Linked DNA regions of Homo sapiens: region 2 is linked to region 1. Evidence: promoter capture Hi-C in human tissues and cell types (Jung and others, 2019). All regions are on one chromosome and are shown on one strand. The core of a region is centred on a gene start or on the middle of the fragment in contact, and the rest is flanking DNA. Distances in the headings are between cores, read along the strand shown. Region 1 holds the start of SCP2D1 (SCP2 sterol binding domain containing 1). Region 2 has its middle 140 kb from the start of SLC24A3.

Evidence for each region. Contacts are between HindIII fragments. The study calls those that stand out against the background at their distance.
Region 2: a contact is called between a fragment that was not itself captured here and the fragment with the promoter of SCP2D1 in region 1, in 1 of the 25 tissues and cell types used here (spleen).

What each region holds. Positions count from the first base shown.
Region 1 is chr20:18,812,498-18,815,102 of GRCh38, reverse strand. It overlaps SCP2D1 (SCP2 sterol binding domain containing 1), which reads right to left and starts at 1,320. Exons shown (of 1, transcript NM_178483.3): 1 at 725-1,320. The coding sequence starts at 1,287. The coding sequence ends at 817. The region is part of intron 2 of SCP2D1-AS1 (SCP2D1 antisense RNA 1); the gene reads left to right. The HindIII fragment of the contact is 11,706 bases long and covers 1-2,605 here.
Region 2 is chr20:19,068,962-19,071,566 of GRCh38, reverse strand. No RefSeq gene overlaps it. Among named protein-coding and RNA genes, the nearest start is that of SLC24A3, 140 kb to the left of the region's middle. The HindIII fragment of the contact is 3,871 bases long and covers 1-2,605 here.

The DNA of each region.
Region 1 (2,605 bases), core at 71-2,570:
GAATAGAATAGTTACAGTCAATACTGAGAGCTTTGGCATGAAGTGAAGCAGAGCTGGAATTCTCTAAGGGTGGTGCCATCAGCATCCCCTGGGAACTTGTTAGAAATGTGCATTCTCTCCAGCCCAGATTTCCTGAGTAGAAGCTCTGAGATGGAGCCCAGCAATCCAGACTTTAACCAACCTTTCCGGTGATTCTGATGCATGCTCCAGTTAAGAACCACTGGCCTAGAACACCTCCCAAGCCCTTCAAGTTTCTTGGAATTGAAACCATCAGAAATTATAATACACCAACAGCACCATCCCCTCTATTGCCTGGGTTCCACCCACAGACCTGTGGTGCCCCATTCCCTTAGCACCCCACAGTCTCATAGTAAAGTTTCCTCATGGAATCAAGTTACCATGCAGAATGCACACCTGCACAATGATAGTTATCACTTCTTTCCCCAAAACATCAAACTTTTTTAGAAAAGGAAAAATGTCTCAAGAACACAATCATTGGAGTATTTAATTCCAATGATCATAATCACCCATTTCTTTACACGTGGCTCTCACCCTGGCATAAATGGAGCATAAAGGGCATAAATGGAGCTAAAAAAAGAGAAAAAGACAAAGATTCTAATTGATGCACTACAACGCTTTTTACTGCTTCAGAACCCTCCCTGAAAATTTACCCATCAACAGGAAAATCAATTAAACTTGAATAGGAAGAATTTGAGTAAAAATATTGGATACTTTTTACTTTAATCTTCAGATTAAGCATGATTTCCACTCGACATTATCATCGAAGAGAAGTTCTTCCTTGGTATTTTTGCATGCTTAAAATTTAGCCCAGTCTTTGAAAACCCTTTCCAGCTTCCAGCTAAGCAGAACCTTGCCACTCACTTTGAACTTTCCGGCAAGGAAAGCCTTCTGCGGGTTCATTTTGCCCAAAACCAGCTCCATAAAGACAGACTCCGGGATTGTAAAGACAGTGTCTGCTGGGAGCCTGGCAGGTCCCGGATACATGTCCCCAGAACCATTCTTCAGATCAATGGTCCACCGCAAAATGGTCTTCCCATTTTTGGTGATGTCCAGCTGAAAGACGGCATTGACTTTCTTGACCAATTGAGCTCCCACTTCCCTGATGTGAAGCCTAATGTCCTGAAACACTGGGAAGCTCTCAAATTCTGACAGCTCTAGAGGATGTGGCATGGCAGGTTCTGGAACTGAACCCAGAACCTCGAACTGGCCCACCAGAGGTCCATCCTCTGCTTTGATCTTGGGTTGATGGTCACTTCTCTTCCACATCTTCCTGTGCTAGTCCCCTGGACCTTGCCATCTAGTCTGTGAGCAGCTGTGACCAGATTAATACCCACAGGTCAGATTGTGACATCAAAGGTAAGGCCAAGTGGGGACTGAAGCTGGTGTGTGTGCTACAGTCTTATTGGCCAAACAAATGATAACGTGTGACCTCAGATAAGGGCTCAGACAGGCCATTGTGAGGCAGATCCACACACACACGCCCCTCCCAAACCAATCAGGGATGTTGGTCCTGCAAGCCCAAAAGGTCTGCAGGCTGCAATGGGGTTAAGGGAAACTGGCCCCAGAAGCTTCTTTAGTGACATGAGCTCTGTCTTTCCAATGCAGACATCTCCTCAGTGAAACCCAACGTGAGACAGAAGTTATTCTTATTCCTCTAAAACTAGGTAACACTTAAGTCCCATTAAGTGGGTAATACTTAAGTTAATACTACAGATCCTAGTGCTGAATTTGGCTTTATCTGGCTGCTGGTAGAAAGGGAAATGCTTTTAGGCCAGAGTAATTGATTGGAGAAGGAATCAGTCCAGGAGCCTGCATCAGAAACTTTCCAGAAGCACAGTGAGACACACACAGAGAGATTAAATGTCCCTAAGATCAGAAGATGCTGCCAGTCTCCTCTGATAATTACACGTAATAGTATAGCCCTTGCTCTGGGCCAAGGTGCAGAGTTCTAAGTACTACACATGTATTAACACATTTAACTCTCATTACAACCCTCTATGATAGGTATTTTTTCTTTTTTTTTTTTTTTTTTGAGACAAGGTCTTGCTCTGTCACCCAGGCTGGAGTACAGTGGCGCGATCTCTGCTCACAGCAGCCTCTGCCTCCTGGGCTCATTTGATCCTCCCACCTCAGTCTCCCAAGTAGCTGGGAATACGGCGTGTGCCACCACACCTGGCTAATCTTTGTACTTTTTGTAGAAATGGGGTTTCACCATGCTGCCCAGGTTGGTCTCAAACTCCTGGGCTAAAGTGATCCACCTACCTCGGCCTCCCAGATAGGTATTCTTTTTATCCCCATTTTACATATAAGGAAACTGAGGGGAGAAATGAAGTAACTTGCCCAATGTCACACAGTTAGTAAGTAGTGTAGCCAGATTTGAGGAGAGGCAGAATGACTCCAAAGTCCACCTGTTTATTTCTTTACTTTTTATTCTGAAATAATTTCAGTCTTATAAAAAGTTTGCAAAAATAGTACCTGTTTAACCTTCTCCCAGCTTTCCCCAAAACTAACATCTTATATAATCACAGTACAGTGATCTAATCTGAGAAATTCACATTGGTTCATGACTACTAACTAATCTACA
Region 2 (2,605 bases), core at 55-2,554, 260 kb before region 1:
CACAAGCAGTGGGTGGTTTTCACCCTAGCCCTGAAAGCTTTATTAAGAATCATTGCTCACAAGCGCCTGCCAGGTCATTAAGACTAATTGCATCATCCTGAGAATAATGAACCGCATCTTCACAGATTGATGTGGTGGGTTTTACAGGTAGAAAGCTACAGCTTTATCCATATAACACCTCTATTTTTGTAATGCTCAACTTCCTCTTTGAGGCTCAGAACTTGAGACCCCCTAGCAAAATACATGACTATTGACTCTGTGGATTGGTGATGGGGCAGGGGGTGATGCAGAGATTACTGGGGGCCTGGTGGATCACAGGCAGCGTGTGGGACCAAATCCTCTTGGTGCATTATTACCACTCCCTGGAACCTCATTGTGTTACAACCTGCACAACATATTTAACTTCCTCAAAGCCCTGAGGGATAGTCACTCTGGTTCCTAGCTTACAGAAGAGGAAAGTTGAATCTCCCCAAGAGTTTGCAACTTCCCCAAAGTCATACCCTTTAGAACCTCTCAAAGCAAAGCCTTGACTTAAACCCAGTATTTTCTGACCCTGAAGCCACGTTCTTTCTCCTTTGCTTATTTTATGAAAATTAGCTGAGAATTGCTGCAAATCAGTCTTCCCCAAAATGTCTCTGTGACCAGCAACCCCAGGTGTGTGTGGTTTTCAAGAGTCAAGATGATGTCAAATCAAATAACACTCTCTGCTCCCAAGGGTCCAACTTTGTGGCCACAAAGGAATGAGCCAGACTTCAGGCAGTAACACTTTAAGTGGTAAAGCTAAAATGCAAACTCTTCCAGAAAGAGCAAGGGGCTCCCTACATCCCCACCAAGATGGAAGAGATCCTCAAAAGGGCTCCGTTTTGACAGAGGGAGAAGAGGCAACCACAAGGGCCTGAAAGTTTAAAAACGTCATAAACTTGTGGAGGTCTCAGAGCAGGAGCCCTAAATTTGGGGGTTTCCTGAACCAATGTGTGGCTCTCCTCCTCTCTGCATTCGGCTTTCCACCAGAAGGTTGGCATGTGTGAGCGGCATCAACCAGCAACTTTACCCTCTGTCTTCTGCTCGGCTTCCACCAGTGCTATAATAAATATGGCAGCAGTCAGCTATCTGGTGACAAATTGAATACATTGGCCCCCTCCATCATGGCAGGAACAGCACTTTGTCCTCACAGGGACACACACATATTGCAGTTAGGGATGTATCCTCCCTGCCAGCAGCGCGTCTGCCAGAGCTACTGTTCTTGGACTTAGAAAACGCACAATCCATTGCCATGGTTTCCCACACAATGTTGCTTCTGCTCAGGAAACATTTTACTGCAAAGAGGCTGCGGCAACGGGCCCACACACATCGAATTCACTAGTCTTTCCATGCATCCCATCACCCAGAGGCTGGCTTGATGTGTGCTGGAATGACCTGCTGAAGACTCAGGAATGGCACCAGCTTGGGAGCCAACCCTTTATGCAATTGGGGTGTTGCCCTAAACAACATGCCTTCAGCCAGCATCCAAATGTAGTGTTCTCTCTGCTATAGCCAGCAAGCAAAAGTCCAAGAATGGTCCCTCTTACTGTTACTTCTACTATCCTACTTGAAGAACTTTTGCTTCCTGTTACCATGTTCTTGGGCAGATTTAGAAACACTCAAAGGAAGAATGATTATTCTAGAAATGCAGTATTGTTTCTACTGAATTGGAAATTGAGACACCAGTAGTGGCTAACATTTCAGATTTCTCCTGGGAGTGTAACCTCATTGATATTATCTCATAATGATGTAGTTTCTGATGGGACTTTGTATATTCTGTGAATTTTTTCCCAGATGAGGAGAAGGGATGTTGAGAGGCAAAAGAATGGACTCTGCAGATGCCTTCTGTTTGATGCCTTCTAGACCTTTCTTTTCTTAGTTGCTGCTGCAACAACAAAAATGCCATAGTTTAGGTGGCTTAAACAACAAACATTTATTTCTCAGTTCTGGAGGCTGAGAAGTACGAGATCAAGGCATTGGCAGATTCGGTGTCTGGCAAAGGCCCTCTTCCTGGTTCATAGATGGCAACTTCTTGTTGTTTGCACACGGCAGAAAGAGGGTGAGACAGCTCTCTGGGGTCCCTTTTTTTTTTTTTTTTTTTTTTTTTTTTTTGAGATGAGTCTCACTCTGTCACCAGGCTTCAGTGAAATGGCATGATTTTTGGCTCACTACAACCTCCCCCTCCCAGGTTCAAGCAATTCTCATGTCAGCCTCCCAAGTAGCTGGGACTACAGGTGTGCACCACCATGCCCAGTTAATTTTTGTATTTTTAGTAGAGACGGGGTTTCGCCATGTTGGCCAGGATGGTCTCTGTCTCTTGACCTTGTGATCTGCCTGCCTCGGCCTCCCAAAGTGCTGGGATTACAGGTGTGAGCCACCATGCCTGGCCTGTGGGGTCCCTTTTACAAGGGCTCTAATCCCATTTCTAACAGCTCCACCCTCATGACCTAATTACTTCCTAAAGGCCCAGTCTTCTAATGCCATCGCATTGGGGTTGAGGATCTCAACATACGAATTTTGTGGTGACACAGTCAGTCCATACCACTTCTCTTCCATGATCTTTGCCCCAGGAGGTCAACCTTTG